3 separate regions of the Homo sapiens genome follow, and regions 1 and 2 are each linked to region 3. The links are contacts of gene promoters, found by promoter capture Hi-C in blood cells and fetal thymus (Javierre and others, 2016). All regions are on one chromosome and are shown on one strand. Each heading gives the region's core, a stretch centred on a gene start or on the middle of the fragment in contact. The rest is flanking DNA. Distances are from core to core; before and after follow the strand shown.

Region 1 (4,455 bases), core at 235-2,734, 270 kb after region 3:
GCCGCCCCTGGAGATAGTGAACTCCCCGTCTCTGGAGATATACAAGCCTCTTGACGGAGATAACTTGGGCGTCCTCACACATCTCTGAAGATTGTTGGGGACACACAGCAGCTTTGGGGCAATTCTATTTGATTTTGTTTCCAGAAACCCCAATGGAGAAGGGCTGCCGCACTGGCCAGAGTACAACCAGGAGGAAGGGTACCTGCAGATTGGTGCTAACACCCAGGCAGCCCAGAAGCTGAAGGACAAGGAAGTAGCTTTCTGGACCAAACTCTTCGCCAAGAAGGCAGTGGAGAAGCCACCCCAGATAGAACACATTGCGCTGTGAACGGAAGGTCCATCCAGCCTCAGGAACCTGGAGGAGCAAAGACTGGGGTCTTTTGCCAAAGGGATTGCAGGTTCAGAAGGCATCTTACCATGGCTGGGGAATTGTCTGGTGGTGGGGGGTAGGGGGCAGAGGTCATGAAGGAGCAAGTTTTTTATTTGTGACCTCAGCTTTGGCAATAAAAGATCTTTTGAAAGCCAAATCACTGCTTGTGTCTTGTATTAGAGATTAATCCATCCTCCTCAGAGACAGAACGATGATGAAAGAGGCAATGTGAGAAGGAAGCTGGCTTTGCTGGGGATGGCCTGGCCTCAGGACGAGTACAGTCCAGAGGGCTGGGTCATGGACAGTGCTCAGGGGAGCTCTGGGCCTACTGCATGTTTCTGAGCCCCCAAGAATTTCCAACAATAGGATTTAGGATTGCCAGAGTGCAGCATCCCTATCCTCCATTTGGATCTGCCTATGGAAATGGAAATGGCCCAGGCTGAGAATTTGCCTGGATCAGGGAAGAGAGAGAGGTGCCGAGGTGATCCCGTGGCACTGTTGGATGGCCTTTATTGACTCTTGCACAGGTCTGCCACACCTTCCTCAGTATGTACACTAGCCTCCTAGACCCCTCCCTGAGGCTGTCTCTTTCAACAGCTGGTCTAAACTCCCTCTGTAACCTGGACCACTTCTGTTGCGGGCACTGACCACCTTAGAGCAAGTCTCCAGAGGGTCATCCTAATACTGTGTCTTTCAGAATCTCAGGGGTGATTTCTGGATTCTGCTAGAATGTGGAAAACTCTAAAGAGTGTCACTCCTGCCTTATCAGCAAGAGAAAAAGCTGGATTGTCCTCAAAATCATAACTTTTCCTATTGCCCAGGAGAAAGATTGGGGTAGATAGTCAGACTAGAGAGGGCCAGGCATGGTGGCTCAAGCCTGTAATCCAGCACTTTGGGAGGCCGAGGCAGGCAGATGATAAGGTGAGAAGATCGAGACCATCATGGCTAACACAATGAAACCCCGTCTCTACTAAAAATACAAAAAATTAGCTGGGTGTGGTGGTGGGCGCCTGTAGTCCCAGCTACTCGGGAGGCTGAGGCAAGAGAATTGCATGAACCCGGGAGGCAGTGCTTGCAGTGAGCCGAGATCATGCCACTGCACTCCAGCCTAGGTGACAGAGCAAGACTCCACCTAAAAAAAAAAAAAAAATTCGCCCTGGGCAGAGCTGCAGGGGAGGGTGGGAAGCCGACTCAGGCCCTGCACCTGGGTAGCTGCCCCACCTGGTGCTGCCCCAGGTAACGCATGTACAGGATGAGCCTCCCTTCCCCCAGCAGGGACAGATCCCACTCAGTCCTGCCCCGCATGCTCTCCTAAAAGTTTGTATCAAGACTGTGCCTCATTATTCCCTGCGATGGGAAGGGCTGGGGAGAAAAAAACCTACCTTACCACTTGATTGTGTCAAAATACAAGGGAATTCATTGCAAAGAGCTTGCTGTGCTCCATGAACGGGGTGGAGCTCAAGTCTGAAATTAAAGGATGGGTAGGAAGGGGGATGGCCAGCCACAACGTGGTGGAAGTGTGACCCTGAGCAGTGGGGGCAAGGGGGCCAGCCCACGGGCAGCAGGGCTGGTGTTGGCAAGGTTGCTGGAGCACACCGTGGGTGCCTGGAGGACAGCTTTTCTACCTTGACATGTAGGAAACAGACTTCTCTCTTTATAGGAAGATAATGCCATAAAATGTCTGTCTACCTATCTGTCTATCTATTATCTATCTACCATCTATCAATTATCTATCTATCATCTATTACCTATCTAATCTATTTATTTCATTAATTACATTTATTTATGTAATTGTATTTCAAGCTCTATTTACCTCCTGAACTTTTCATGTGAGAGACTACATTTTATTCAATATATGCTTTAGGTAAGTTTCAGTTGGATTTCTCTTAGTACATATGACAGAGTCCTGATTAAAATCATTGCTGCATTTGATCATTTATATTCTATCCTGTAACTATAATTTATGTGATCACCAGTAATTTTATCTGTATCAATCTTGTCTCCTGTATTAGATAACAGGTTCTTAAGGTCTGGTACAAACATTTCAGTTTTTTATTGAACATAACATACATATAAGAAATATATATATATACACATACACACATACACACAAACACACACATGCTATGTATATATTATGACTTGATAACTTCACTAACTGATCACACTGTGTAATTAGGACCCAGATCAAGACACAATATTACCAGCATCCCAGAAGCCACATGGAGCTCAATTCCAGGCCCTGCTCACTTCCCCCTCCTTGCCTATCTACCCAAAATGGTCACCACAGTCCTGATGTCTAGCAGCAATATTTCTTTTTCCAGGTTTTGTGCTTTATATGAACAGAATCACATACTCTTGCATCTGGTTTCTTTCCCTCAATATTATGTTTATGAGATTCACGTGTATTGTTGTATATGGCTGTAGTTTGTCATCATTGCTGTATAGTCATTCATTGTATGGATATGTCATAATTTACTGGTGTAGGGCACTTGGAGAATGTATTAGTCTGCTCGGGCTTCTGTAACAAAATACCACAGACTGGGTGGCTTAATTAACTGAAATTCGCATTTGCATAGTTCTCAAGGCTAGAAGTTCCAGAACAGGACACAGTGAGAAGGCAGCAGTCTGCAAACAAGGAGGAGAGCCCTCACCAGGAAATGAGTCAGCTTAATCAACTAAAATTTGCGTTTGCATAGTTCTCTAGGCTATAAGTTCCAGAACAGGACACAGTGAGAAGGCAGCAGTCTGCAAACAAGGAAGAGAGGCCTCACCAGGAAATGAGTCAGCTTAATCAACTGAAATTTGCATTTGCAAAAAAGGAAGAGAGCCCTCACCAGGAAATGAGTCAGCTTAATCAACTAAAATTTGCGTTTGCATAGTTCTCTAGACTAGAAGTTCCAGAACAGGACACAGTGAGGAGGCAGCAGTCTGCAAACAAGGAAGAGAGTCCTCACCAGGAAATGAGTCAGCTTAATCAACTAAAATTTGCGTTTGCATAGTTCTCTAGGCTATAAGTTCCAGAACAGGACACAGTGAGGAGGCAGCAGTCTGCAAACAAGGAAGAGAGGCCTCACCAGGAAATGAGTCAGCTTAATCAACTGAAATTTGCATTTGCATAGTTCTCTAGGTTAGAAGTTCCAGACCAGGACACAGTGAGGAGGCAGCAGTCTGCAAACAAGGAAGAGAGCCCTCACCAGGAAATGAGTCAGCTTAATCAACTGAAATTCGCATTTGCATAGTTCTCGAGGCTAGAAGTTCCAGACCAGGACACAGTGAGGAGGCAGCAGTCTGCAACCAAGGAAGAGAGCCCCCACCAGGAAATGAGTCAGTTTAATCAACTAAAATTTGCATTTGCATAGTTCTCTAGGCTATAAGTTCCAGAACAGGACACAGTGAGAAGGCAGCAGCCTACAAACAAGGAAGAGAACCCTCACCAGGAAATGAGTCAGCTTAATCAACTGAAATTCGCATTTGCATAGTTCTCGAGGCTAGAAGTTCCAGACCAGGACACAGTGAGGAGGCAGCAGTCTGCAAACAAGGAAGAGAGCCCTCACCAGGAAATCAGTCAGCTGTTCTCATTTAATGTTCTCACTTTAGAAGATCATGCAAGGGACAAAATCTCCAGAATCTTTCCTGGGTGGGGTCACAGCTGGGGTGGGAAAGTTGTAGCCCCTCTGAAACTTCCCGCATAGCTGTCCTTCTATGGAGGCCAGGAGCGCATCGGGGAAGGTACAGTCCACAGTCCCCCTCCATCCCACCAGTCAGGCTCCAAGGGGTCTTCACATCCACAAAACACCATTTTCATAGATCAATAGCACACACACCAAGATGCGCAAATTCAAACCAGATACCCAAATGGCACTCACTTATTGAATTTGCAAGGATTTTTACCACTAGTCTTTTGGTGGTAGTGCCTAGTGGCAAGAATATAGAAAACCAGGAAGTATTCAGCACTGATGTGACAGATCAGTAGCTCCTGGGATTTGGGCAGAATTTTGTGCAGTCCAGCTTTTTGGAGAAGCTTATGTCATTTATGCTTGCTGAGTCCTGTGTAAGCCCCAAAGCCAAGCTTTCACAAGCTA
Region 2 (4,872 bases), core at 1,565-4,064, 390 kb after region 3:
AGCACTTTGGGAAGCCAAAGCAAGAGGATCACTTGAGCCCAGAAGTTCAAGACCATCCTGGGCAATATAGCTAGACCCCATCTCTAAAAAAATTTTAAAAAATAAAAAAAAAGAATTAGCTGGGCATGGTGGCGCATGCCTGTAGTCCTAGCTCCTTGGGAGGCTAAGGCAGGATGATTGCCTATGACCAGGAGTTTGGGCTGCAATGAACTATGATCGCCCCACTGCTTGCCAGCCTGGGCAACAGAGTGAGAACTTGTCTCAAAAAAAATATTGCTGTCACCGGACACGGTGGCTCACGCCTGTAATCCCAGCACTTTGGGAACCCAAGGTGGGCGGATCACCTGAAGTCGGGAGTTTGAGACCAGCCTGACCAACATGGAGAAACCCCATCTCTACTAAAAATACAAAATTAGCTGGGCATGGTGGCACATGCCTGTAATCCCAGCTACTCAGGAGGCTGAGGCAAGAGAATTGGTTGAACCCAGGAGGCGGAGGTTCTGGTGAGCCTAGATTGCACCATTGCACTCCAGCCTGGGCAACAAAAGCGAAACTCCATCTCAAAACAAAACAAAACAAAAAAACCATATATGTGTGTGTATGTATATATATAAAATACACTATACAAATATATAGATATAGATATAGATATATAGATAAACATCTCTCTATTTATATTGCTGTCAAATTGTGTGTGGACAAGAAAGGAGTAAAATATTTGCAGGAAAAGTATACAAATCCCAAATGCGCTAAAGTCAGACTGCTTTGCAGGCATCTTTAAGTTTGCGCCCACTGTAAAGAAACTGAAACTGCAATTTGAGGACAGTGAATTTTGCAGGTGGTTTATGCAAGACAATCCATGTTGGAAATCGAGTCAGCAGACCAACTCTGCAAACATAAGGCCCTGTATCAAACTGTTGGTGAGGGAATATACATTTTATGGTTTAAATTAAAATAAAATATTTACATGTATCTTTTGGCATTTCATGTCTTAGCTGAGTTTCCTATTAAACAAGTGATTACCATTCTGGCAATTGAATACTAGGGTTTCTCCTCTACAAATATAAGGGATTTTTCCTCAAATTATTACTCACTATGTGACCTTAGGTGATTTATTTAAACTTTCCCAGTGACAGCTGTCCTGTATGTGAAATGAGACTGAGCCCCTAACTCATAATGTGTTGTGAGGCTTGAAAAAGACAATGTGTATTAAAGGGTTTGTTCAACATGAAGGCAACAATCAAATGTTAGTGACTCATCATCATTTTTGGAACCTCCGGCACTGAGATTCATTCAAACCACAAAGCAGAGAACTCACAAGACTAGAAACACTTATGGCTCCCGCGGACTCGCCAAAGATGGTCACAGAGCTGGGGTCCCCACCGAAGAACTCGATGTTCTTCTGGACCCAGGACAGAGCAGCCACCTGGTCCTTGAAGGCCCAGTTCCCCGGAGCATGCTGATCCCATGTGCTGAGGACAAGAGGCAGGGTGAGAATTCTTGGTCAGCCATGGTGTGTTTCCCACAGCCCTGGAAGTTCTCAGCAGAGGCTGTGGGCAGGGGTCAGTGGGGAGGGGGCGGAGAGTCAGAGGCCTGGAGGAGCTGGGGAAACCGGACTCAGTTCTCACACTTTGCTGAGATTTGGATTTCTTTGAGAATTTGATGAAAGCTATGCACCTAAGAAAAATGCACATTCAATATTGTAGCTGCAATTTCAAGTATTCACAGGTTCCTCAGAATCCATGAATCCCAATCCATGAATCCTGTGTTGCCCAGGCTTGTCTGGAATCCATGAATCCATTCCTGAGAGGTGATCTGTACTAGAAAGCAAGAAGTTTCCTGGGCACAGAATTTTCCATGAAACTAAATTAATAGTAGTCACAATAACAATTAACAGGCCAGGCACGGTGGCTCATGCCTGTAATCCCAGCACTTTGGGAGGCCGAGGCGGGCAGATCATGATGTCAGGAGATCGAGACCATCCTGACTAATATAGTGAAACTCTGTCTCTGCTAAAAAAAAAAAAAAAAAAAATACAAAAAAATTAGCTGGACACGGTGGCAGGCGCCTGTAGTCCCAGTTATTCGGGAGGCTGAGGCAGGAGAATGGCTTGACCCCGGGAGGCGGAGCTTGCAGTGAGCTGAGATCATGCCACTGCACTCCAGCCTGGGCAATAGAGTGAGGCTCTGTCTCAAAAAAAATAAAAATAAAAAAATAAACAAACAAACAAAAAACAATAACAGCAGCTGCAGCATGTACCAGACACTGTTCTAAGGGCTTTAAGGCTAATACTCCTACAACCCTCACACCTATGAGGTAGGTGGTGCTGGGTTTTCTCCCTTTGCTTTTTTGGGTCTTCTCCACCCTTCTCTGCTCTGCCCCTCAAAAGCTGACCTCTAGGAATGACATCACCCAGGCCTCAGCTGTGTGCCATGAGGGTGGGCTAGAGAGAGACTGCGATGTTTATCCCCCAACCCCGTGCTCCCTCTCTGCTGGGAAGTGTTTGGGCAGAGGCTGCTTTTCTCCACAGCAGCAGCTCATGCCAGCTCCCTTCCACTAAACCTGTGAGCCTGCTGTCAGGAAACCAACGGATACATCAACTCTTTAATTCAGGCACAGAGAGGTTAAACCCTCTTGCCCAAGAGCTAGAAAGCTGCAGTTTTGGGATCCCACACCCCCATGCTGCTGCCCCTGCACAATTGCATGTTTCCCGGGATGGGATTAATGAGAGAACAAATGAAACAAGTGGAAATGCCATAGAACCAAAGAAATGTCTAGACCGAAAGCATGCATGCAGTGCACGTCACCCTGGGGCACATTCTACTCCCCTCCATTTTCCAGTTCTCCAGACTGCTCCTTCCCCTGGGTCCCCTCCACTGTCTATGACCACTGAGCTGGCTCTCACTCCACCTTCTCTCTCCCAGGCCCCTGCTCAAGAGTCAAGCCCTGCCAATTTTACCTCCATTCTACTGTGGCTCCCACCCTGGTCCCCATTTCTCCATCTCTGTTTATCCTGAGAAGCATTATACCTTAGTGGTTACTATCTCAGCCTCGAGCACAGGATTCACAGCCTGGCCACTTATTATCTGGGTGACCTTGGGCAAATCACTTAACCTGCTTTGCCTCAATGCTTCTCATGTCTAAAATGGGGATAATGATAGTGCCCACTCCACATGGTTGTGAAGATTGACAGTGCCAGGCAGAAAATAAGCATGTCATATTCACGTTATATACATGTTAGCTATTGCTTTTGTGGTTGAATGACCCCATGGCCTGCATCAAGACAGTGCCTCCCAGTGGGGCTCCCTATCTGCAGCTGGGCACCCCTGGCTCAGCCTCCACTCTGCTCCAGAGTGAGGTTCCTGGTACACTACTCTGTGAAAGGTACTCCTGGTCCTCAATCTGTGTTGGATAAAGCCAAAACTCCATGTATGGCCTGGCATTCAAGGCCTTTCCCTATCAGGCCTGTCCTTGCCTTCCCGCATCCATCTCCTGCTGTAGCTTCATCTACCTATGATCAAAACCAGATACGATAAGCAATTATTGAAAGCTCTTCTACCAAAGGAATCTTATGCAGAATCCTAATATATAGAGCAGCTAGAAGTGTAATTACTCTGGTCAGGGCACCCCGTCAGCCTCTCCTGCCTGCAAAGCACTCCCAGAGCTACATTCCAGGGCTACAGGCCCAGTGCAGTCTGCAAAAGTATTGCTTCATCCCCATGTGTTGCTACCTCCCTCCCAACTTCCTAGTTTTTGCACAGGTAGCACCCTTTGCCAAGCACATGTTCTCTGAACCCCTTCTCCTCAAGCCCAACCACATCCTTCTGGTGCAACTCCAATGTCACCCCTCTCTGAAGCCTCCCTGATCCCTTGCAACTCCCTCCTCTGTTTCCACAGCTCCATGGCCTCTCACTCTTGGAGAATTAACCATGTCCTTCTTGGTAATGTGGATATTTTTGTCCCTGCATTATCTCTCCCATAGTCAGGAGCCTCTGTAAGGCAGGATTCATATTTGAATCATTGCTGCCTTTACCATAGTATGTGACAGTGACCCGCAAGCATAATCCTGGCCCCACCTCTCACTTCTCCTCTTTGTTTACATTGGACCCTCATCAGGACTTCTCCTGCCATGTCTTAGACAGGATAATAGAAGCAGTCAAGAGACCTAGCTCTGTTTTGTGACCCCTGGGAAGTTGTTTGGCCTCTCTGGGCCTCCATTTTCCAGCTGTGAAATGAGAATAACAACAGAGAACCTTCCTTGAAGGATTATTTTGAGGGTGAGTTGAAATAATGCATGGCAAGTGCACAGCCCCATGGCTGGTTCAGTGAAAGCCCAGTACATGTTAGGCCTGATTGGAGGAGGGAAGCCACTGTGATAGAGTGATGATTCTCAGGTGAGCATTCGAGAAGACCTGGGGTGAGGCTCAGGTAGACACCACCGACTGCTCACACAAACAGTGTCCTGTTCTTCCAGGGCACACAGTGGGGCTACATGGCCCCAGCTCGCTTGCAGCTGGATGTGGCCATGTGACTGAGTTCTGCCAATGGCGAGTGAACAGAAGTGACAAGTGCCACCTGCAGGCTGGGCCAGGAGACCCTCCATTGCATGATCCTCCATGCTGTCTCGGTCCACCCACCAAATGCAGAAGATCGAGGCCCTAAAGAATCCACATCAGAGCTCAAGATGTGATGAGCCAGATCCCTGGTTGACCATGAGGAAGAATGTCTGCCGATCAGGGATGCTCAATTAAACTTTACCCAAGTGAGAAAGAGATTTTTATTGTTTCAAGCCACCAACATTTTGGGATTTATCTGCTACAGCTGCAAAAATTACCTAAGTAATTAGGGCCAGTTTTGTTCATTGTCCCGGAA
Region 3 (4,470 bases), core at 508-3,007:
GTCACTGGGTCAGGCTGAAGGGCCTGGCTCCCTCCTGCGGGGCAAGGTCCCTCCCAAGAGGGTCCTTTAAAACTGACTCTGGAAAGTCAGAGCACACACCCACCAGACAAGCCTGAACTTGTCTGAAGCCCACTGAGACCCAAGCCGCAGAGACTTTTCTAGCTGTGATGATCAAGACATAATCGTGACCTCCAATGCCCCCCACAAGTATATTGCTCCTGATTCTTTCAGCCCCTGACCTTACTTCTCAAACTGTTCCCTGCTGACCCCCAGTCCTATCTGCCCCCTTCCTAGGCTGGTCCTTACTGACCCCTCCAGCTCCATCCCCTCACCCTGTGCCCCACCTTTTTCAGATAGAAAAAACTTTCTTCTCCAGTGCCTCTTGCTGTTTTTCATCTCTGGGCCATTGTCAATGTTCCCTAAAACATTCCCCATATTCCCCACCCAGCACTCCACCTCTTTAGCTCTTCAGGTCTCAGCTCAGAAGTCACTTCTTCCAGGAAGCCTTCCTTGATTGTCTTTACTAGTTTAGGGGCTGAAGTCAGGCGTTCCCAACAGCCTGCTGGAGTTCCCCATCACAGCTTATCTCTCAACTGTCTTTCCTGAGAGAGGGAGAAGACATTCCTCAGAGACGGTTGTCACAGGGAGAACTTCAAAATTGGGATTCGACCTGAGAGGCCACATGGATTCTTGGCTTGGCGCAGGAAAGGATTCAAGAGTGAGTGGGGAATTCGTGGAACTGAGGGCTCCTCCCCTTTTTAGACCATATAGGGTAAACCTCCCCACATTGCCATGGCATTTATAAACTGCCATGGCACTGGTGGGTGCTTCCTTTAACATGCTAATGCATTATAATTAGCGTAAAATGAGCAGTGAGGATGACCAGAGGTCGCTTTCTTTGCCATCTTGGTTTTGGCTGGCTTCTTCACTGCATACTGTTTTATCAGTGGGGTCTTTGTGACCTCTATCTTATTAAACCAGTCTTGCCCAATTTCTATCTCATCCTGTGACCGAGAATGCGGACCCTCCTGGGAGTGCAGCCCAGCAGGTCTCAGCCTCATTTTACCCAGCCCCCTGTTCAAGATGGAGTCGCTCTGGTTCCAACGTCTCTAACGCGGGGCCCCTGACTGCTCTATTTCCCAAGGTGTATCTAGCATCTCGCACTATACGAGGCCAAGTTAAGGCTTACACATTTGCAGAAGGAAAGAGGTAAGGAAGCAACCTGGGACCTTCCACTGTCTCTGTTTCCATCTCTCTCTTTCCATCTCTGTTCATCCCAGAATCTCTCTGTCCCTATCCCTAAATATCGAAAATTTCTGTCTCTGACCATCTATCATTGTGGCTGATCATCTGTTTCTGACCATTCCTTCCCGTTCCTGACCCCAGGGAGTGCAGGGTGTCCTAGCCAAGCCGGCGTCCCTCCTAGTAGTACCGCTGCTCTCTAACCTCAGGACGTCAAGGGCCTAGAGCGACAGATGTTTCCCAGCAGGGGGTTCTGAGGCTGTGCGCCCAGATCGCGAGAGAGGCAAGTGGGGTGACGAGGTCGTGCACTGAGGGTGGACGTAGAGGCCAGGAGTAGCAGGCGGCCGGGGAAAAGAGGTGGAGAAAGGAAAAAAGAGGAGAAAAGTGGAGGAGGGCGAGTAGGGGGGTGGGGCAGAGAGGGGCGGGCCCGAGTGCGCCCCCCGCCCCCAGCCCCGCTCTGCCAGCTCCCTCCCAGCCCAGCCGGCTACATCTGGCGGCTGCCCTCCCTTGTTTCCGCTGCATCCAGACTTCCTCAGGCGGTGGCTGGAGGCTGCGCATCTGGGGCTTTAAACATACAAAGGGATTGCCAGGACCTGCGGCGGCGGCGGCGGCGGCGGGGGCTGGGGCGCGGGGGCCGGACCATGAGCCGCTGAGCCGGGCAAACCCCAGGCCACCGAGCCAGCGGACCCTCGGAGCGCAGCCCTGCGCCGCGGAGCAGGCTCCAACCAGGCGGCGAGGCGGCCACACGCACCGAGCCAGCGACCCCCGGGCGACGCGCGGGGCCAGGGAGCGCTACGATGGAGGCGCTAATGGCCCGGGGCGCGCTCACGGGTCCCCTGAGGGCGCTCTGTCTCCTGGGCTGCCTGCTGAGCCACGCCGCCGCCGCGCCGTCGCCCATCATCAAGTTCCCCGGCGATGTCGCCCCCAAAACGGACAAAGAGTTGGCAGTGGTGAGTTGCTGCGCTGGCCTCAAGGAACCACGTTTAGACAAACTTCGGAGGCAAAGGATGGGGGTGTCTCTCCCCCTGCCCTCGGCGGTGGGCACACAGCGTGGGGGAGGGGCTTCGGTAAACAGCTTGGGGGGTCTTTGGCAAGCTATTGGAGTGATCTCTTGCAAACGGTGGGGGATCTTTTGTAAGCAAAGAAAACCTTTGATAAACAATTTGGCAACCTTCAGCATACAGCAGTGGGGCGAAAAACAAGCCAGAGAGTGGGAGAGGGGTGACCTGGCAAACTACTGGAAAGGGACTCTTATGTAAATAGCGGGGACATCCTCTAGTATCTGGGACATTTGGCGGGGGGGGGGGGCGGTCTTTGTAAACAACTTTTGGACACATCTGGGCAGTTGCTAAGGGCTCTTGCCAAGCGTCTAGGTAAGCCTTTGGCAAACAGCTACAGGGGTCGTTTTTGCTAATGTAGGACTTTGGGAACGGTGCTCTGGCACACAATTTGGGTAAACTTATGCGCGCATAAGGATGGGAGGGAGCTTGGTCAAAGCGGGGCTTGGCAAATTTCTAGGAACCTTCGGCACAGATCCGGAGAGGGACCTTTAAACAAACAGCTCGAGGGGGCCATTTGGGAAGTGATTGGGGCAGGAGGGAAGCAGAGAGCGCATCTTTTTTCTCCTGGCTTAATGGACAAATTGGTCAAGGGCTGGGCCTCGGAAAGTTTCCTCGAACTTCTCCAAAGGGTCGGAGAAAAGAAGGAGAGAGCTGGCCCGGCAGGAGGGAGGAGGAGTGGGGCAGGCGCTGGAGGGCCCGGCGCGTGGGGCGGGGGCGGACTGCGCTCCGCTCGGGTCGGAGAGCGGCCAGAGAGCCCTCCTTCCTGGCTGGGCTCCCAAACCGCGGTTCAGATGTTGTCTTGTGAGCGTGCGCGCGCCTGGCTGGAGGGGCACTGAGCCTGGCCGCAGTGTTGCGTAAGTAGGGCCTGAGGAGAGAGGCAGGCCAGGGACCCATCAAGATGTCCTTTCCAGTCCAGGGGATATCTGCTCCCTTGTTGCTTCAGCCACCCTGCCCTCCAGCCTCCCCCTCAACCTGTCCGGGAGAAGACGCCCATGCCCTCTGGTCACCCTAGGAACTCCTTCAGGAGGTGACAACTACCCTCTCCCAACTCTCACCCTTCCAAACAGCTAGGTCTCAGCCCCCTCTGGATAGATGGGTTGGGAAACCTCCATACATTTTTAGAGGGCTACTTTTTTCAAGGATCTGGAGCTGGCTGGCATAATGATGTGGCTGTTGGGTGGGGGTGAGAGTGGAGCTTTGGGACAATGACAAAGCTACTTGGTTTCCTACACCTTTTCCAGCCAATGGGTCACAGGATGAACCCCTAAATTGGGGTTCAGCCTGGGGGCCACATGGGTTCTTGGCTTGCACAGGAAGGAATTCAAGAGCGAGCCAACAGAGTAAAGTGAAAACAAATTTATTAAGAAGGTAAAGGAATAAAAGGGTGATTATTCCATAGACAGAGCAGGGAATGGGCTGCTGGACTGAGTATACATATGGTTATTTCTTGATTATATGCTAAACAAGGGGTGGATTATTTAAGAGTTTTCCAGAAAAAGGGTGGGGAGTTCCTGGAACCGAGGGTTTCTCTCCCTTTTAGACCATATAGGGTAACTTCTCAATGTTGCTATGGCATTTATAAACTGTCACAGCGCTGGTGGGAGTGTCTAATGTATTTAACATGCTAATACATTATAATTAGCATATAATGAGCAGTGAGGACGACTAGAGGTCACTTTCATTGCAGTCTTGGTTTGGGTGGGCTTTCTCCAGCTTCTTTACTGCATCCTGTTTTATCATAGGGGTCTTTGTGACCCGAACTGTATATGGTGAAATCAGTCCTACCAACCTCCTGTCTCATTCTGTGACTAAGAATGCATGCCTGCCCTCCTGGGAATGAAGCACAGCAGGTCTCAGCCTCATCTTACCCAGCCCCCCACTCAAGATGGAGGTGCCTGGTTTGAACACCTCTGACAAATGGAAGTCTGTGTTGTCCAGAGGCAATGCAGTGGGGGCTTAAGAAGATAACTCTGGACTTAGACCGCTTGGCTTCAAATCAAAGAGTGCATGAACCAACCAGCTGGCCTAGTGATGATGTTAGGCAAGTGACTTCTCAGTTTCTTCATCTGCAAACTGGGAAATTTCCTATCTCAGGGTTAAAAGAGAGGTAATCTTAGGTGCTTACCTAGCACATGGTAAGTACTCAATAAGCACTAGCCATTATTCT

Evidence for each region. The method cuts DNA at HindIII sites, captures the fragments that hold promoters and counts their contacts. A CHiCAGO score of 5 or more calls a contact.
Region 1: a fragment that was not itself captured here is called in contact with the fragment with the promoter of MMP2 in region 3 in 1 of 17 cell types (M1 macrophages); the score reaches 5.3 in M1 macrophages.
Region 2: a contact is called between a fragment that was not itself captured here and the fragment with the promoter of MMP2 in region 3, in 1 of 17 cell types (monocytes). The highest score is 5.2, in monocytes.

Annotation. Positions count from the first base shown.
Region 1 is chr16:55,749,786-55,754,240 of GRCh38, forward strand. It overlaps the pseudogene CES1P2. Among named protein-coding and RNA genes, the nearest start is that of CES1, 81 kb to the right of the region's middle. RefSeq lists an enhancer at 2,760-3,959. The HindIII fragment of the contact is 5,815 bases long and covers 1-4,392 here.
Region 2 is chr16:55,864,645-55,869,516 of GRCh38, forward strand. It overlaps CES5A (carboxylesterase 5A), which reads right to left. Exons shown (of 13, transcript NM_001143685.2): 5 at 1,319-1,472. Among named protein-coding and RNA genes, the nearest start is that of CES5A, 8.3 kb to the right of the region's middle. The HindIII fragment of the contact is 7,799 bases long and covers 1-4,872 here.
Region 3 is chr16:55,477,441-55,481,910 of GRCh38, forward strand. MMP2 (matrix metallopeptidase 2) reads left to right here and starts at 1,758. Exons shown (of 13, transcript NM_004530.6): 1 at 1,758-2,192. The coding sequence starts at 2,040. The HindIII fragment of the contact is 12,132 bases long and covers 1-4,470 here.